Linked DNA regions of Homo sapiens: regions 2, 3, 4, 5, 6 and 7 are each linked to region 1. The links are contacts of gene promoters, found by promoter capture Hi-C in blood cells and fetal thymus (Javierre and others, 2016). All regions are on one chromosome and are shown on one strand. The core of a region is centred on a gene start or on the middle of the fragment in contact, and the rest is flanking DNA. Distances in the headings are between cores, read along the strand shown.

The links. Contacts are between HindIII fragments. The CHiCAGO score rates a contact against its expected background, and 5 or more counts as called.
Region 2: a fragment that was not itself captured here is called in contact with the fragment with the promoter of MAP3K1 in region 1 in 1 of 17 cell types (neutrophils); the score reaches 5.3 in neutrophils.
Region 3: a contact is called between a fragment that was not itself captured here and the fragment with the promoter of MAP3K1 in region 1, in 1 of 17 cell types (naive CD4 T cells). The highest score is 5.1, in naive CD4 T cells.
Region 4: a contact is called between a fragment that was not itself captured here and the fragment with the promoter of MAP3K1 in region 1, in 1 of 17 cell types (naive CD4 T cells). The highest score is 5.7, in naive CD4 T cells.
Region 5: a fragment that was not itself captured here is called in contact with the fragment with the promoter of MAP3K1 in region 1 in 12 of 17 cell types (naive B cells, neutrophils, total B cells and 9 more); the score reaches 11.5 in naive B cells.
Region 6: a contact is called between a fragment that was not itself captured here and the fragment with the promoter of MAP3K1 in region 1, in 17 of 17 cell types (total B cells, naive B cells, activated CD4 T cells and 14 more). The highest score is 32.0, in total B cells.
Region 7: a fragment that was not itself captured here is called in contact with the fragment with the promoter of MAP3K1 in region 1 in 16 of 17 cell types (naive B cells, total B cells, erythroblasts and 13 more); the score reaches 30.3 in naive B cells.

The regions. Positions count from the first base shown.
Region 1 is chr5:56,814,234-56,816,979 of GRCh38, reverse strand. It overlaps MAP3K1 (mitogen-activated protein kinase kinase kinase 1), which reads right to left and starts at 1,431. Exons shown (of 20, transcript NM_005921.2): 1 at 925-1,431. The coding sequence starts at 1,406. RefSeq lists silencers at 334-573, 754-873, 944-1,713 and enhancers at 1-622, 2,074-2,203. The HindIII fragment of the contact is 8,983 bases long and covers 1-2,746 here.
Region 2 is chr5:56,149,321-56,152,066 of GRCh38, reverse strand. The region is part of intron 6 of ANKRD55 (ankyrin repeat domain 55); the gene reads left to right. Among named protein-coding and RNA genes, the nearest start is that of ANKRD55, 83 kb to the left of the region's middle. The HindIII fragment of the contact is 2,817 bases long and covers 88-2,746 here.
Region 3 is chr5:56,190,697-56,193,442 of GRCh38, reverse strand. The region is part of intron 2 of ANKRD55 (ankyrin repeat domain 55); the gene reads left to right. It also overlaps the pseudogene C1GALT1P2. Among named protein-coding and RNA genes, the nearest start is that of ANKRD55, 41 kb to the left of the region's middle. The HindIII fragment of the contact is 3,374 bases long and covers 1-2,746 here.
Region 4 is chr5:56,229,798-56,232,543 of GRCh38, reverse strand. The region is part of intron 2 of ANKRD55 (ankyrin repeat domain 55); the gene reads left to right. Among named protein-coding and RNA genes, the nearest start is that of ANKRD55, 2.2 kb to the left of the region's middle. The HindIII fragment of the contact is 2,795 bases long and covers 1-2,739 here.
Region 5 is chr5:56,248,336-56,251,081 of GRCh38, reverse strand. No RefSeq gene overlaps it. Among named protein-coding and RNA genes, the nearest start is that of ANKRD55, 16 kb to the right of the region's middle. The HindIII fragment of the contact is 5,147 bases long and covers 1-2,746 here.
Region 6 is chr5:56,265,258-56,268,003 of GRCh38, reverse strand. No RefSeq gene overlaps it. Among named protein-coding and RNA genes, the nearest start is that of ANKRD55, 33 kb to the right of the region's middle. The HindIII fragment of the contact is 3,064 bases long and covers 1-2,746 here.
Region 7 is chr5:56,282,030-56,284,775 of GRCh38, reverse strand. No RefSeq gene overlaps it. Among named protein-coding and RNA genes, the nearest start is that of ANKRD55, 50 kb to the right of the region's middle. The HindIII fragment of the contact is 655 bases long and covers 1,045-1,699 here.

The DNA of each region.
Region 1 (2,746 bases), core at 182-2,681:
GGCCAAGCCGGAGGGGCTGCGGGGAGCAGTCACCACTGCTTTGAAACTGAATGGCTGACACATCCGGTCCTGGCTCTTACACCACTCCGCCAAATGCAAACTTCAAAGGCCAAATTCAAACTCCAAACAGAAGTCACTCAAGTGACTTAGCAGTGCAGTTCGCATTCCCAGGAACACTCAAAGCCCCTTGGGGGCTGCAATTAGACAAACCGCACTTCCTAAAAGACTGCAAGCCTCCGCGAGTGTGCAGCCTCCCGCCGCACGGCTTTGACAGGCGTTACCGAGCCGTCCTCCTGGAGCCCTGCGGCCGGCGCTGGGGGCGCGCCGCCTGCGTCCGGGCCCAGCCCGCGGTATCTGCCTAGGGACTCGAGTCCCGGGCGGGCCGAGGGGCTCTGCCTGTCACGGCCGCTGGGACCTGCTACTTTCTCTTCGGTCCTCTCAGTCTCCCACCCGACCTCGGGCTTCTCACCCACCCCGCCCCTCTTCCGACCACCGCCCGCCTCAGGCTCGGGCCTCGCCCCCCAGTGCCTTTGCCCCGGGGACACCCGTCCGGGGGCGCCGCCGCAGGGCCGTGCCCCGCCCCCGGGCTCCTCGGAGAGCCCCGATTCCAGGAGTCCCACAAAGCCAGCCGTGGCCCCCTACACCTTTTCGCAACGGTTCCCCGCAGAGAGGCTCGCACGCCTGTCACATGTCTGCAAACAATAACAAACTCTTCCGCACGTCCCCGTCCGGTCCCCCAGGCTGGGTCCGGGGCGCCGCCCGACTCCGAAGGGGTCGGGGGGTGCTCAGGGGCGTAGGTCCCGGCGAGCGGCGCGTAGCCTCGCTGCGCTGAACCCCGGGACGCCGTGCATGGTGCCCGGGGTTCATTCATTGCCCTCTGCCCGCTCTCCAAGTCCCCGCCGCGACCCCGGCCGTGCTGCTCACCCGGCGGGGGCCGCTGCAGGAGACGGCTCGGCGGCGGGCGCCCGCTTCTCCCCGGGCTCGGCCGCTGCGGGACTCGAGGCGCCGCTGTCCGGCGCCGCCACCGACTCGGTAAGGTGGGCGCCGCCGCGGCTCGCGGCTCCGTGGGGCGGCGGCACCGCCACAGGCTGGAAGCCGGTCCCACTCCCCGCTGCGTCCGCGGGCTCCGGCGACGGGGAAGTCGAGGAGGCCGGCGGTGAGGCGGCAAGGAAGAGCGGCTGCTCAGGCAGCTGGTCCAGCTCCACACTCCGCACTTTGCGCAGCTGCCGCCGCCGCCAGTCCGCCCGCTCGCGGCCCCCGCTGCCCGCCTCCCGCAGCAGTCCCGCGGCAGCCGCGGGCGCGCTGCTCGCCTTGAGGGCTCCTCCGCCGCCGCCTGCCTCAGGGCTCGTAGCCCTGGCGCCCGGGAATCCCGACGACGAGGCGCGATTCCCCGCCGCCGCCGCCATTTTCTCTCGCGGGCTACATTCGCTCGGCCCCTGCGAGGGAGGGAGGGGGCGGGGAGAGCGCAGGGGGCGGGCACTGCGCCGCCAGCGTAAGGCCTCCTGCGCCAACTGCGTGAGCGCGGCCCGCCGGGCGCCTGGCCTGGACTGACCGACGGGCGGGCGCACTGGGTCCGGCCTGCGGCAGAGGTGTGGGTGGAGGGCGGCCCGGCGGCCGCAGGTGGGAGGGAGTGGGCTGTGCTCTCCGCCGGGCGAGAGGGCGGGCGGGCGAGGTGGACTGGGAGGCGGAGGGGGCGGGGGCGGAGGCGGAGGCGTGGGCTCCCGGGACTCTGCGCGCTGCACGCGCCGCGCCGCCAGGTAGTCCCGGCCGCACCGGCGACAGGAGGAGCCTTGGCGGCAGCGCTGCGCCGCTTCCTCTCGGCAATCTCGGCCCGGCACCGCGGAGCTCGCGGGAGGGGAGTTGCACCTTCCGAAAGAAAGAATTAGTTCCAACTTGGGTTTCTGGTGCTTGAAGGGGACGCAGGCGAGAGGGTTTACAGTCTGTCATTCCCACTGCCCTTTGCAGTGGGCGTCGGGGGACCCGGGCGTGGACCAGCCTCCCACCGACGCGCAGGTGGCGCCCGGGACCGTCGCCTGCTGCAAAGCGAAAGCAAGTCAACGTTCAGCAGACAGGCTGCCGCGGACCAGAAAAATAAAGTTTTGTTTGTGTTTTCTTTTGAAAAGAAAACATTCCTTCTCTATTGTCCCACCCCTGTCCCTGTGCTACAGATAACAAAACTTCAAAGTTTTCTGTAATACCTTACATCCTGAAGCTGCTGATTTGGGACAACTACCCCCTACCCTCACCAAGTCCCCACAGCCTCTGAGAAACCGTTGGGGCGAGGAAGGGAGGCGGGTGTCCCCGTCGATCTTTAGTTTTTCCTTGGCTGTCTTTGGGAAAGGCAGTCCCGTACAGAACCACATATAGCGCGTTTGGGGAGGGGACCAGCGCTGTGCCAGGAAGTGCTCGGTAATGTCACCCTCGGCCAGGTCCCGGCCCTCCCCGAATCCGATGCTTCTCGCCGCACGTCCTTCTTCCCTGCAGGGTCGGGCCACCGGCCGGGTTCCCTCTGTCCCCACTCCTGCAGGGCCTGGCTGCCCATCGCTGCGTTGTGAGTCCTCCTAGTCCCTGGACTCTACGTGAGAAGGTGCTTTGGGATGGAAAAAGCAACATTTACACGTTAATGATTTTTGACCTTTTGTCAACTGAGGAGAACTTCTGTGTTGCGTTTATTTCTTCCTTCCTTTCCTTTCCTCCAGCTGGTTTGTTTAGGATGGGGAATCTCCCAAAACCCAGGAGGAACGTC
Region 2 (2,746 bases), core at 247-2,746, 660 kb after region 1:
TCCAACCCTATAAACTTCTAGAGGCAGACCATGCCTTTTTTTATCTTTGTATCCCCAGTTTCTAGTTCAGTAGCTTGCACAAAAGCTTTAGTGAGGCACAAAAATTTTTTATATATATATACACACACATATATACATATATACATATATGTGTATATACACACATATACGTGTGTATGTATATGTATATATACACACGTATATATACATATATATACACACACACATATATATATATAGATTTTTTTTTTTCCGAGATGTGGTCTCACTGTGTCACCCAGGCTAGAATGCAGTGGCACTATTTTGGCTCACTGCAACCTCCGCCTCTTGGGTTCAAGTGATTCTCCTGCCTCAGCCTCTTAAGTAGCTGGGATTACAGGTGCCTGCCACCATGCCCGGTTAATTTTTGTATTTTTTGTGGAGATGGGGTTTCACCAGGTTAGCCAGGCTGGTCTCGAACTCCTGTCCTCAAGTGATCCACCTGCCTCGGCCTCCCAAAGTGCTGGGATTATAGGCGTGAGCCACCACGCCCAGCCTAGATATATATTATATCTAGATATGTTATATCTAGGGAGAAAGAAAGAATTAAATTCAAGAAAAAGTCATGTTATTTTATTTTATGGCCCTTTCTTCTTTTGTTTTGTTGACTCAGCTATCCAATTTATTTCCCAGACTTGACTCCAGGTGACTGTTATTTCCAAAACCTACTCTCAAAAAACTAAGATTTTCATGGTATTAGAGGTGTTTATGAGATATAAATAAGTAAATAAAATTTTATACCAATTAGAATTTTTTAAAAATGTCCTGTAGACTTTAGAGCAGGAGTCCTTACCCATATTTATGACATGGACACATCTTCATGTGTTTGTGAAACCTATGGATAACTTCTCAGAAACATACCTGAAATTAGGCTGGGTGCAGTGACTCACACCTGTAATCCCAGCCCTTTGGGAGGCCGAGGCAGGAGGATTGCTTGAGCTCAGGAGTTCAGGATCAGCCTGGGCAACATGGCTAAACCTCATCTCTATTTAAACTTCTTTTTAAAAGGAAAAAAATATCAAAAAGGAAAAATATCTGAAATTACAGAAAATGAAACATATAAGATTGCGAAAGAAATCAAAATATTAAAATACAGCTATCAAAACATTCTTTTATTTATTTATTTATTGAGACGGAGTCTCGCTTTGTCGCCAAGGCTGGAGTGCAGTGGTGCGATCTCAGCTAGCTGCAACCTCCACCTCCAGGGTTCAAGTGATTCTCCTGCCTCAGCCTACCGAGTAGCTGGGATTACAGGCACCCACCGCCACACGTGGCTAATTTTTGTATTTTTTAGTAGAGGCGGGATTTCACCATGTTGGCCAGGCTGGTCTCGAACTCCTGACCTCAAATGATTCATCCACCTTGGCCTCCTAAAGGGCTGGGATTACAGGTGTGAGGCACCACGCCCAGCCTATTTATTTATTTATTGAGACGGGGTCTCACTCTGTGAGGCCAGAGTGCAGTGGTGCAATCTCAGTTCACTGCAACCTCTGCCTCCCAGGCTCAAGTGACTCTCCCACCTCAGCCTCCCAAGTAGCTGGGACTACAGGCGCATACCACCATACCCAACTAATTTTTTTTTTTTCTGTAGAGGCAGAGTTTCACCATGTTGCCAAGGCTAGAAAACATTTTAAAGACCAAATTTATGATAATAACATATAAGGTTGTTTATTAATGCGTTAAATAAGATTTGATGGTAGGAGCACAAACTGCTACAATTGTTGAAGTAGTGAGACATGTAGTGATCTGCAATCACTAATGTAATAGCACTGTACCTATAATTTATAGAGGTGGCAAAGTCACAGGTACTGTTTATACTACTGTGGGTTGTTGCCTATATTCATAATTGAAAAAGATGTTAAATTTCAATTAGAAGTTAGTGAAAATAGGCCGGGCGCAGTGGCTCACGCCTGTAATCCTAGCACTTTGGGAGGCCAAGGCAGGCGGATCATGAGGTCTAGGAGTTCAAGACCAGCCTGGCCAATATGGTGACGCCCATCTCTACTAAAAATACAAAAATTCAACGGGCGTGGTGGCTCGCACCTGTAGTCCCAGCTACTAGAGAGGCTGAGGCAGGAGAATCTCTTGAACCCAGGAGGTGGAGGTTGCAGTAAGCCGAGATGGTGCCACTGCACTCCAGCCTGGGTGACAGAATGAGACTCCGTCTCAAAAAAAAAAAAAAAAGAAGTTAGTGAAAATAAAGATGTAATTATTTCTCTGATGAAACTCACACATCCTTATTTCTATCCATGGATAGAGCTCTTGCTCTAGTGGCAATTTCCAAAAAAAAACCTCCCAAAAGTATTTTGAGCAATGAGTAGAATAATTGTATAGCCTCCCAAGGTGATCTCCTTGGAACAGGAAGATTGTTTTATTTTAATTATTCAACAAATATTTGTTCAGTACCTGCCATGTCTCATGTGGGCTTCATCCCTGCTATGATGGAGTTCACAGTTTAGTGCAGAAGAATGTAGATGTTCTTTTTTTGTTGAAAATTAAATCTATCAACTTAGGCTTCTATTCTGAAGGCTTTGTTTTATAAGTTTGTTCTTGTTAGAATTGGCTCCTAGACTTCTATGGCCTAAGTTCGTTTTATTGTTTTTCTTGTCTGATTTAAATTATGAAAACTCCCATTCTAAAGTCTTTTTTTAAAAATGTCAGACATATTATTCTTATAATTATTACAGGGAGAAAGTGAGAGTTTTTA
Region 3 (2,746 bases), core at 92-2,591, 620 kb after region 1:
CCAGGACCCTCTACAGGAGGATAATAGTTGTAATTCCAGTACCAAAAGGTTCTAGGTAGATAACCTTTATTAAATGGTGTTCTGAAACAAAGGGATGAAAAGTTTCTTTTCCAGTGGGATCTCTGGAATCTCCTGCTTCTACATTTATAATTTCCATGCATCTCCCCAGTGCTAAGTCTTCAGTGGAGGAACTATGTGACACTTGTCTGTTTTAAATGCATCAAGAAATCTTTTCAAGGCTTTCTTTGCTTAGTAAATATCCTGCTCCTCCACTCATACAGCCCTGTTTTACAAAGGGCTTAAATCTTCTCCTAAAATAAATGTGTTCTTTAGAATCATATTTTGAAAGAAGCCATCTCAAATTATCTAGTATGAAATATGTGTCATCATCTGCTTTCAAAAACCAATCAGCATCTTCTAAATGATGTTCATGAACATACTGAAAAGGTTTAATTGTTTTCCAGTATAGCTCATCTCTGCCTGCTTTGGTTTTCAATCCCACAGCACGGAAGTCTTTATTTTCTTCTGAACTCATAAAAAATACTTTTAGACAACGCTGGGCCCATGTAGCTTTGACATGTTTGGCCTTTTTCTGTAGGTTTTGAGAGCCTGTCATAACCCAGCAAAGAATTTTAACTTGCTAATAGAGGTTTTCAGCGATGTCTGTGTTCTCATCTTTACGTTGGCTAGAATCTGCATTGAAGTTCATTTGTCCTCCTAGATGATTCTGTCCATTATCATCTGAATGCCTCGCATGAGGATCATTATGAAGAACATTAGTCTGGGTGTCACCCTCTTCTCCCAACAAAATACTAAGTAGCTGAGAAAATAAAATAAACCCTATTGCCGATCCATAGAGGAAGGTTAAAAAATTCAGCCAGGATTTAGAGGCCATCTCGGAAAGTGTATTTCTGTCATCGGCCGTGGCTCCCTCTTGCCCCTCCTGGGGGGCAGAGAGGGCGACGACATGGGACCGGCGACTTTTGCTTCTCTGGGCACCCGCAGAAGTGGCTCCTGGCCGCTAGCCGAGGCCGCCAACTGCCGCCCAGATCAGTCTCCGGCAGCAGCGGCAGAGTTTTAAATAAAATATAATCTGCGTGTCTTCACATGCTTCTTTCTTCCTATTTCTTCATGTTTCTTCCATTTTCTACCCTCAGAGTCTCTCACCCTGTGTGTATTCTGGAATCTCTCTTTATGCACCCGTACAGAAGTCTATCTGTTTAAAGCAGTGAGAGAGGCAAGACCATTCAAAACATGCTCCTCATGTAAGCAGTGTGGAAAGAAACATAGATGACAAATAGATGAGAAAGAGAGAGAGAGAGAGAGGAGCAATAGGAAGGAGACAAGGAAGGACTGAGGTATTGTTTGTTTATGTAGATCTTTTAGACATCTTAATAAGTGGGTTTCTGATTGTCAGTAGAAAAAAACTTTCCTGCTCTCATTTTAGATTCCATTAGGACCATCAGTCATACTTTTCTTTGTACTTGTTATTTCTACATCATGCTTCCTCATTTCTATAGAAATTCTCTGTACAGTTTCTAAGTTTGTGCCCAATTATTTGCATTGACCGCAACTTAGATTGGCTCTTTCTAAATAACTTCTAGGGAAGCTCCTTCATTTCCTATTTCCTTGTTGTGCTGTGGTTTAGTGTACATCGCAGGGCCAGAAGGAATTCTGAAGTACATGCTATTCTGCTTCACACGTCTTCCTTTTCCCCCTACACTGTGCTTCACTTTATGTCTAAATTCCTTCTAAACAGGTTTGGTGGTCATCTAGCCAAGAGAGGTCATCTTCAGTGACAGGAAGCTCACTACTTCTTGAGGTGACTCGGTCCATTTTTATAAGCTCTAATAATAATTAGAATACCTGTCTCTCTGTCACTCTCACCCACTGCTATTTCTAACTACTGGAGTCTCACACAGCAATTTAACCATAAAATTGTTTGCATAAAAGCCCTTCGAAAAACAACTCTATTTACAATAGTATGAGAAAGAATAAAATACTTAGGAATAACCAAGGAGGTAAAAGACTGGTACACTGAAAACTACAAAGCATTGCTGAAAGAAATTAAAGAAAACACCAGTAAATGGAAAGACATTTTATGTTCCATGAATTAGAAAACTTAATATTATTAAGATGCCAGTACTACACAAAGCAATCTACAGATTCAATATAATCTCTGTCAAAATCCCAATGATGTTTTCTACAGAAATAGAAAAATCATCCTAATATACATATTGAATTTCAGGAGACCCCAAAATAGCCAAAACAATCTTCAAAAAGAACAGTTGGAGGTTTCACACTTCCTGATTTCAAAACTTACTACAAAGCTACAGTAATGAAAACAGTGTGGTACTGGCATACAGACAGACATATAGATCAGTAGAATAGAACTGAAAGTCCAGAAATAATCCCATACATTTATGGTCAACTGATTTTCCACAAGAGTGCCAAGACCATTCAATAGGGAAAGAATAGTTGCTATGACTTGAATGTTCCCACTGAAAGTTGTGTTGAAATTTAACTGTCATTGTACCAGTATTAAGAGGTAGGCTTTTTAGAGGTGATTGGAGCACGAGGGCTCTGCTCTGATGAATTGATTAATACTGTTATATTAGGAGTGAGTTAGATATCTTCTGGCATGGGTGCCTGATAGAAACAATGAGTTTGGCCTGATTTCCTCTTCTGTCTCAGATGCTCGCTTCTGCCTTTCACCCTTCTGCCATGAGATCATCCTCACCACATG
Region 4 (2,746 bases), core at 93-2,592, 580 kb after region 1:
ACCAACTATTTCAGATAGTGTCATCTTTATTCTGTTTTTTCCAAATCTTTTTTAAAAATTAGGGTAAGCAATGTAAGAACACATCACATTTTTTTTGTCATTCGATTAGCCCAGTATCTCATTGCTGTATCTTCGTAAGCATTTTTTTATTCCTTTCAGGAATAGATGTTGCCTGTATTTATGTCGGGTTGATATGTTATCTCATCCAAGGTTGTGTAATGACATATCCCTATGCTATTATTTGCAATGCCAGGGTATATCTTCCTTACTTATAATTTCTGGAGTGGAGGTAATTTTCCACATCAAAATGTTGCTGTGAGATCAACTTATCCTTATAATATCACATATTTGGCCATGTGGTCTATGTGTATACATTTTGCATATGCAATGTGTTTATATACATCTTCGTGTAATACTTATGTGTAATAGTAAATCTTTTTTTAGTATAAACATGAAATTTCCATTTTATAAACATAATAAATATTTTTTAGAATCTTTTCTTAAATATCTATTATTTAAACCACTTTCTACAGTCTCTGAATATTCTTCAAGATCCTAAGTTCCTTTGGTGATTTTATCTGTTTTGGCTACAACATGAAATGGTGGTTTGAAAAAGCCTCATTAAGAAAATGTACTGCTTCATTCTTTTTTCCCTTTTCCTGCTCTAGGCCATAGCATGTTTATTACCCCTCAAGCTACATCTGGCTTTGTGGGTGAATTATTTTAGCCCAGGGGGTTTCTCCAAAAATAAATTTATATTTAGATTCCTGAGTTAGCTAATGTATATATGTGTATAGTGTGTTCTCCAGGTCTTAGCTCATTTGGAATAGTGTTTGTGTATGTGTATGTGTGTGTGTGTGTGTGTGTGTGTGTGTGTGTGTGTGTGTGTGCGCGCCTTCAGAACGTGCCGGCTCATACCGTGTTTGGATCTGAACAGCATAGAGAAAGGCGTTGTCACAGCTGTGCCCACCACCATCCTCTCCTCCTGGTACATTTTATATCACTGATGGCAGTCAGTAAAAGTGAAAATCTGCTAAGAACCAAAGAGCTCACACTGGCTGAAAAATGATGTTGCTAAGCCACGAAACATACAATGGGTTTATTTTTGAAGACTAATTGGAGGGAGCTGGGACTGACTGAAGAAGAACTAGCTCTTCATAATGAATTTACATGTTCCAGTGCTGTACCTTCTAACAGGATTGAGCCCCAAACATAGTTAAGATACAGAATTACAAGACTGATTTTCTTTTAACACCTTTCATGTGAGCAATTCACAGCAATTCCTCCACCTGGGCCGGATTCTCTCCCATGGAAGTTAACCCTCTCCCTGCCATCTTTATCTCTATTTCTCAATCCTTTCTCTCTTTCTAGAGGTTTTATCATATGATGGAAAGAGCATGGGATTTTAAATCTTATAGACGTAGATCAGAATGGCAGATCATCTACTTCTTAGCTGTGTGACCTTGGCAAGTTACCTAACCTCTCTGGGCCTTAGTTTCCCCAGGAATACAATGAAGGAAATGATGCTTACCTAGCAGGGTTGTTGTGAGGATCTAAAATAATAACATATAAAAAGCACCTGTTAGCAATGCCTGATATTCAATAAGTATTTTCCCATTTTGGCTGCAGCTGTTATTATTATTGCTGTTGTTATTATCACCTTGGACTGGGAGTTTCTGAAGTGCAAAAGACTACTCATCTCTCTACCTTCAGCCTGAATGTAGCAGTCCTCAGATCAAATGAGGGCTTAGTGCTGGATGACTAAATTACATTAATTATTTTTTTCAGAACCCTAGGATACCATTTATAGCAAGACCTAGAATAATAATTAACTAAGCCATTCCTGAATAGTTTTATTACCCATTAATCCTTCCTCTTTCTTAAAAGCATGAAAGACCATGAGGGTTGAGACCATTATACAGATTTTAAATACTATATTGTTGGACAAACCAAAGGGAGGTGACTTTCTCGGGAAAAGTTGAACATGGGGCTTTAGTTGAGGGTTTTTCATGAATCGTTACTGTCTGGATAAGTGAACCCTAGCAGTACTGTCTTTACATGCAGATGGGGACAGAAGACATTGCAGCTGGAAGAATCTTAGCAATCAAGTAACCTGTTGGTTCTCACATTGGCTGTACTTAAGAATCATCTGGGCCGGGCGCAAGGCTCACGCCTGTAATCCCAGTGCTTTGGGAGGCCGAGGTGGGCAGATCCCAAGGTCAAGAGATCGAGACCATCCTGGCCAACAGGGTGAAAGCCTGTCTCTACTGAAAATACAAAAATTAGCTGGGCATGGTGACACACGCCTGTAGTCCCAGCTACTCGGGAGGCTGAGGCAGGAAATCGCTTGAACCTGGGAGGTGGAGGTTGCGGTGAGCTGAGATCAGGCCACTGCACTCCAACCTGGCGACAGAGCAAGACTCTGTCTCAAAAAAAAGAAAAAAGAATCATCTGAAGAAATTCTGAAAATGCTGATGCTTGCATCCCACCCAGGGAGATTCCAGTTTAACTGCAGTGGTTGGCCCAACCAACACTCCTTGGGAAGTTCTCATGGACAGCAAAGATGCAGAACCAGTCATCCAACCTACCCCTCTTCCACATTTCAGATGAGGGAACTAAAGCACAGAGAGGTTCAAAGTTGGGTCCTTCCTAATAATAATAACAACACCCCACTAAATAGCAACAGAGGGGACTGAGGCCCAGGTGTTCTCCATCCATACAACAGGGCAATAGGAAGCTTCCTGCA
Region 5 (2,746 bases), core at 168-2,667, 570 kb after region 1:
AGAGCATCTGCACAGTAGTACTTGCCCTCAGCAGCTAGGGAGCTAAAGCCAGATTACATTGGATCAAGCAGAGATTGGGTGGTCTGGAAAGGAAATAGCAAATGTAGCCTTTTTATTCCCAAAATCATGTCAAGAAACAAAGAATAAATCTGTTTGAAGAAACATCACATCATCACAGTTTTGTTTCATTTTTATTTTTTTAAGGCCTGAAGAAGGATATATGTGTAGGCTAAGGAAAAGTTTCTTGAGGAGGGAAAAAGATGAAGTTGCAAAAGAGATGGAATAACTTGGCCAGGCGCAGTGGCTCATGCCTATAATCCCATCACTTTGGGAGGCCAAGGCGGGTGGATCACCTGAGGTCAGGAGTTCGAGACCAGCCTGACCAATGTGGCATGGTGAAACCCCACCTCTACTAAATACAAAAATTAGCCAGGTGTGGTGGTGAGTGCCTGTAATCCCAGCTACTCAGGAGGCTGAGGCAGGAGAATTGCTTGAATCCGGGAGGCGCACGTTGCAGTGAGCCAAGATCACGCCACTGCACTCCAGCCTGGGCAACAGAACAAGACTTCATCTCAATAAAAACAAACGACAACAACAAAGAGATAGAATAACTGATGGAAATCTTAAAGGTAAATGTCTATCAGAATTACGATGTAAGGCATTGCCCTAAGAACTTGACATATTTAAGTCAATTTACTTCACTCAAAAACTTTATGAAGAAGGCACTAAGATATTCTCATCTTACAGATGAGGGAAATAAGGCGTAACTGAGATAGCATCACGTTATAAAACTGGGATTAGAATTTAGCCAGTCAAGCTCCAACGCCCATGTGCTTAGTGGACTGTAGGTTGTAAATCTACCTCTCTGGGGAAAGTTTTTGTGTCAAAGGAGGCACACTAATTGCAGCCTAGCATTCTCAAAAAAGAAAAGACACTTCTTTCTTTTCACCAGAAGGCATTGAAGAGGAGTCAGGGGAGGAAACAGAGAAATGTAGAGGAATAGAAAAGAACAGTTAAAGAAGAATGAAAGATCTATTGGTGTTGGAATGGCTAGGCTGATTGTTAATGTCCCTTACGTTCAGAATAGTAAACCCATGTTTTCAGCACAAATGCACCAGAGGGAAATTACCCCCCTACTTGCTACGGGAGCTGCCATCTTCCAATTAATCTACCAGCTACGATTATTTAGAAAAATGTATGAAAGCTGTAACTGGGTCACAGGCTCATTTTATATTACCTATATACGTACATTGTGTTCCTCCCCATGCTAATTTTGGCATATTCATTATAGTACAAACTTTGGAGAGACAATAATATCTTGGGATCCATCCTTAAACTGTACAGCTTGGAGTCCTGCTTCTTGTGATGGAGATCAAAACGGATGGAGCAATGAACTCCCAAAACTCTGAAATTACACTCAGTGGTTTCCTTGGCAAGGTGAAAGAGCCAAGCATTGACCAATCATGGGATAATGACAGAATATGGTCATACCTCATGTAGCATCCAGTTTGAGAGACCCCAATTTACCATTTCTTGAGAAAAACCCAATTACAACATTTTTTGATAAGAAAGTTCTCTAGACAGCTCTAGACAGTGCTAGTGAGAGGTAAAGCAGGCTAGGCTTCTGGGTCGGGTGGGGACTTGGAGAATTTTTCTGTCTAGCTAAAGGATTGTAAATGCACCAATCAGCACTCTGTGTCTACCTAAAGGCTTGTAAACGCACCAATCAGCACTCTGTCAAAAGAGACCAATCAGCACTCTGTCAAACGGACCAATCAGCACTCTGTAAAATGGACCAATCAGCTCTCTGTAAAATGGACCAATCAGCAGGATGTGGGTGGGGCCAAATAAGGGAATAAAGCAGGTCACCTGATCCAGCAGCTGCAATGCTGTTGGGTTCGCTTCCAAGGTGTGGCAGTCTTGTTCTTTGTTTCTTCCCAGTAAATCTTGCTGCTGTTCACACTTTGGGTCCACACTGGCTTTTCGGGCTGTAACACTCACCTGGAAGGTCTGCAGCTTCACTCATGAAGCCAGTGAGACCACAAACCCAGCGGGAGGAATGAATCTGTAACACTCACTGCGTAGGTCTGTGGCTTCACTCCTGAAGTCAGCGAGACCACAAAGCCGCCAGAAGGAAGAAACTCTGGACACGTCTGAACATCTGAAGGAACAAACTCTGGACACAACATCTTTAAGACCTTTAACACTCACCATGAGGGTCCGCGGCTTCATTCTTGAAGTCAGCGAGACCAAGAACCCAGAAGGAACCAATTCTGGACCCACTAGCACACCACGGCCTTGTTACCCCAGTTTATCCTCACAACAACCTTTCAGAATGGGTATCATGATTATCTCCAGTATACATACTGGAGAAATACTTAGATATGTTCTGTAATTTTTCTGTGTGTGTAGAACTAGAATGGGGCAGAATTCTGAGGAAGCTCTGACATGTATGGCCCTGATAACATCTAGCCATTAGGTGACTCCATTTTTACCTGAAAATAGACACGGGGATTCAAGGTGGTCAGAGTTGCCAGATATTAACCAGTGTCCACCTCTGGCTAACCTCTGTTAGAGATTGATTTTCTGAGGCTCTTTGGGAGCTTAGTTTATATTTATGAGTTTTTACTGTTCAGTAGTGAACCTCCATGGAGAAGCCCTTAAGTGTATTTTTTTTTTATTTAGTTATTGAGAAATATTCTAGCCCCTTGCTGCACAAAAGATGGACCAACTACCAACATAATCT
Region 6 (2,746 bases), core at 153-2,652, 550 kb after region 1:
TGTACTTGCCATGTTCAGGGAGTATATAAGGCAATGAATGCAAGGGTTGCAGCAAAGAAACATGGGACACAGTCCCTGAATATAAGAAGCTATCTACCTAGGAAGATGAGGCCCAATCCGATACAAGCAATAAAGAAGTATCAAGTAATCTCTTTACTGATAATACTGATCAGGATAGTAATAGTGGCAGTGTATTGAGTGTTTACTCTGTTCCAACGACTGTGCTAAATGCTTTATATAAATCATGTTGTTGAATCCTCAAAACAACTTTATTAAGTAGGTACTATAATTATTGCCACTTTAGGGGTAAGGAAACCAACCCACATAAAGTTTAAATCATTTGCCAGGATTTTATTCCAGGCTGTCCGACACCAAAGACCATGCCTTTAAATATCCAGCAATCTGTAATGCCTCATAAGAGCAAAGGGAGTTCAAAGTGGGGAGATCAGCATGGGATGGATGAGACCTTCACGGAAGAGGGATCCTGGAGATGTAGATGTGGTTTGGGGTAAAGAGAGGATGGAGAAGACCTTCCAAGGAAGGAGGGAGAAGGAGAGGGAGAGCACACACAGGCTGAGAAGTGAAAATGCACAAAGCTCATTGGGGTCCCAAGAGTTACCCTGCTGCCACTGCACACCCTTTTTGCATGGATGTTAGTGGGTGGATAATGGTGGTCAGGTGACAGAAGCACATGGAAGTTAGGATTATGGAAGGGCCTCCTTGAAAAAAGCCTTCAGAAATGAGAGGGAAATAAAAACAATTGAAACCAAAACAAAGTTGATGAGTGGAACCTAATTAAACTAAAGAGCTTTTACACAGCAAAAGAAACTATCAACAGAGTAAATAGACAATCTAGGGAACGGGAGAAAATATTTGCAAACTATGCATCTGAAAAAAGTCTAATATCCAGACTCTATAAGGAAATTAAACTAATCAACAAGCAAAAACCAAATAACCTCATTAAAAAATGGGCAGAGGACCTAAACAGACACTTCTCAGAAGACATGCAAGTGGCCAACAAACATATGAAGAAATGCTCATCTGGCTGGGTGCGATGGCTCATGCCTGTCATCCCAGCACTTTGAGAGGCCTGGGCAGGAGGATCACTTGAGGTCAGGAGTTAGAGACCAGCCTAGTCAACATGGTGGAACCCCATCTCTACTAAAAATACAAAAAAAAAATTAGCAGGGTGTGGTGGCGCACTTGTAATCCCAGCTACTTGGGCGGCTAAGGTGGGAGAATCATTTGAACCCACCTACCTGGGAGGTGGAGGTTGCAGTGAGCTAAGATCGCGTCACTGCATTCCAGCTTGAGCAACAAAGCGAGACTCCATCTCAAAAAAAAAAAAAAGTTCATCATCACTAATCATCAGAGAAATGGAAATCAAAACCACCATGAGACACTATCTCACGCCATTCAGAATGACCATTACTAAAAAGTAAAAAAAAAAAAAAAAACAGATGCTGGCAAGGCTGCAGAGAAAACGGAATACCTATACACTGTTGGTGGGAATGTAAATTAGATCAGCCACTGTGGAAAGCAGTTTGGCGACTTCTCAGAGAATTTAAAACAGAGCTACCATTCGACCCAGAAATCCCATTATTGGGTATATGCCCAAAGGAAAATAAATTATTATACCAAAAAGACACATGCACTCATATGTTCATTGCCATGCTACTCACAATAGCAAAGCCATGGAATTGACTTAGGTGCCAATAAATGATGGACTGAATAAAGAAAATGTAGAACATATACACCATGGAATATTCCACAGACATAAACAAGAATGAATCATGTCCTTTGCAGCAACATGGATGGAGCTGGAGGCCATAATCCTAAGTGAGTTAATGCAGGAACAGAAAACCAAATGCTGCATGTTCTCACTTAAAAGTGGGAGCTAAATATTGAACATACATAGACATAAACATGGGAACAACAGACACTGCAGACTACTAGATGGGAGAGGGTGGGAGGGAATGAGGTGAAAAACTACCTATTGGGTACTATGCTCATGACCTGGGTGCAGTCCATTTATGTAATAAACCTGCATATGTACCCCTGTATCTAAAATAAAAGTTGAAATTTTTAAAAAATCTTTATAAATCTAGATAAGAAACTGTTAACTTTTCACCATTTAACAAAAGTAAATGTCTTACAAGAAAAATGTTTTAAAGGGATAATCTATTGTCTAGAAGAAAGATGACAAAATTATATTTAAAAAGAGAAAGAAAGGGCCGGGTGTGGTGGCTCACGCCTGTAATCCCAGCACTTTGGGACACAGAGGCAGGAGGATCACTTAAGGCCAGGAGCTCGAGACAAGCCTGGCCAACATGGCTTTCTACTAAAAATACAAAAACTCAACAGGCGTGGCGGTGGCACCTGTGGTCCCAGCTACTAGGGAGGCTGAGGCAGGAGAATCACTTGAACCCAGGAGGCAGAGGTTGCAGTGAGCCGAGATCATGCCACTGCACTCCAGCCTGGGCAACAGAGAGAGATTCTGTCTTGGAAAAAAAAAAAAAAGAATGAATGAATGAATGAATGAATGAAATTGGAGATGAAGAAGGCAACATTGAAGCCAGGACAAACAATAAGTAAATTACTTCAACAATTATCCATGTGAAGTGACAAAGGTATGTACTTTGAGAAGAGGGCAGGAAATTCCAACCAGAGATGAGGTGTCACCAGTGGGATCTGGCTAAATTCTAGCCCCAGACATTTTATATTATAATCCCAACAAGGAGGTATC
Region 7 (2,746 bases), core at 123-2,622, 530 kb after region 1:
TAAGAAGAATCTGGGCCGGGCACGGTGGCTCGCGCCTGTAATCCCAGCACTTTGGGAGGTCGAGGCGGGCGGATCATGAGGTCAGCAGATCGAGACCGTCCTGGTTAACGCGGTGAAACCCTGTCCCTACTAAAAATACAAAAAATTAGCCGGGCGTGGTGGCGGGCGCCTGTAGTCCCAGCTACTCGGGAGGCTGAGGCAGGAGAATGGCGTGAACCCGGGAGGCGGAGCTTGCAGTGAGAGATTGCGCCACTGCACTCCAGCCTGGGAGACAGAGCAAGACTCCGTCTCAAAAAAAAAAAAAAAAGAAGAAGAAGAATCTGCAGAGGCGATGGCCCACAATGCCAAGTGCCACTCTCTCTGAAGTCAAGGAGATCAAGACCAGGTAAGAAGCCACCGGGATGGACCATTTGGAGTCACTAACAGTTCTCAATGGGCAGGTAGGTTGTGCTGGGGATGAAAGCCTGAATACGATGGGTTAAGAAGTCAGACTGGGAAGAACTGTTCTGGAGGCAGTAGGTGTCTGTAAACTGGGGCCCAGAGTGTTAAACCTGCCCAGGATCACAAGGTTAGTTAGTGACAGAGCCAGGACCATTATTTGGATATGTTAATCTTTTTTCCTTCATACCACACTCCTTGTAGATATGCAAAATTTTCTTTCAAGTTTCTTTCAAATAATAGATCCATTTAGCTTTGTGTGATATATAGAGGAAAGGATGGCTGTCTTACATATGTCTGACTTGGTGAAATTAATATTTCCCTTGGACATATGATGCTTAACAATCTCACTGAAACAACCTCAACAGGTTGTTTCACTGTCACCTGCCTCAGGCCTGAAAAACCACAGTAAAAAGCTTATTCAGTGCAAGATCTAATCAATGCAAAAATCAGTCAAGACTAAACCGATGCGAAATCAATGCAAGACTAGCTGGATGACTGGATCCATGCAATCCCTGGATCTCCTGAATACCAGGAACTCTACTGACCTTCAGCTGCCCACCCACAGGCATGGTGACACTCTGGGCTTGATCATCACCTGAAGCTTTCCCTCATGAAACCCTGACCCCCCATCTCATCTCCTCATCCCTCCATATCTGCTCTTCTACCTCAGAGACACCACAAGCCCCTGATCCTCTGTCTTCTCCTAGTCATCAGCCTGCTCCAGCCTGAACTTCATTGTTGATCACAAGTCCTCTTCTCTCACAGATTCTTCAGCTCCCTCACACCACAATCCTCCTACTGCACCTGCCCAGCAAAACATACAGGCTGGGCAGCAGCACCATAACCAGCCTCATCTGCTCCTTTCACCCTGGCTGCGAAGGCCAACACAGCATCCTGGACCTCCAGCATCAATCTATCCAATAATCCTTTGATTCATCCAGCGTGAACTCCCTCACCTTCACCAAGCCTCAGCTCAGTCTTCACAAGACCTCTCTCTCCTTCTCTTACATCACACCTGGCCTCCTAATGCACCAGGAGACACCAAGGTGATCAGGAAGGACCCGTTTCACCTTCCTGCCCCCTTCACTGTAAGTACATTTACATTCACACTCATCCATTTTTCCTTTTCCCTAGCTGCTGCAGCTTAGATCTTCCTCTTCTTGTTCAGAGTTAACCTTTGCCCTGAGCCACATTCCTTTCTTTCCAGGTGCTACACGCCCAGCCTCTTCCTCCCTCTGGGATGCTTGCCCCCAAAGCTTATAATTATGAGAGCACTTCTCCAGGTCTGAAACACCCACCCCTTGATCAGGTGCTCCTCTAGCTTCTATCAAATCCCTTTCCTCCCCTTCTCACCCAAACTTTCAAAAATGTAGCCTACACTCTTTCTTCTTCCTCATTGTCCATTCCTCAGTTGCTACAGCCTGGCTTCTGCCCTCCTTCCTCAGCTGAAACCAGTCTCCCAGGCTCCCATATGCCAGCTAATGGGCACTTCCCCTCCTTCCTCAGCTGAAACCAGTCTCCCAGGCTCCCATATGCCAGCAAATGGGCACTTCCCCTCCTTCCCTCACCAATCCCTCTGCTTTGTCTACGTTGTTAATGACTCGTTAGTACTAAAAACTCTCCTGGCTTCTATGACCCTACACTTTCATGATTCTCCTCCTCTTTCATTCATTCATTCAAACAAAAAATCACTTATTGGCACTTACTATGTGCCAGGGGTTGCAGGGATCTAGGGGTGAGGAAAACAGACATAACGCCTGTCCTTGTACACCACACTGTCTAGTGGGAGAGACAACAGTAAACAAGACAGGAAACAGTCAATTCTTGTTATTCAGCCTAGTTATGGTCTAGTCTATAAAGTCTCTGCAGACAATGAATTAGTGAACACTGAATCACTGCTCCTGGGAAGAGCCAGGCTCCTTCCAGCCTCTGGTCACAACATTTCATAAACCAAACAATACATGACCTTGTTTTATATGTGTGTCTTTTACAGACATCTTATTTAATGTATATTTATGAGTGATTAATTATATGCAGCATGTTTTAATAAAAAAAACACTAGCTGAGAAGAGTTTAACATTTTCCTGATCCTGAGTAACAAGATTTCTTCCAGGTCAGAGTCTCTCTGTTCATTATAATCACTTCCTGAGCTGCTTTCTCATCTTGCCCTAGCATTCAGGACCAGTGGCCTTAGATTGATGCTTTTATTAATTTGCTGGATTTATTCTCTCTCTCTCTCTCTCTCTCACTTTCTCTCTCTCTCTCTCACATACACACACACACATGCCCCAAAACACAAAATACA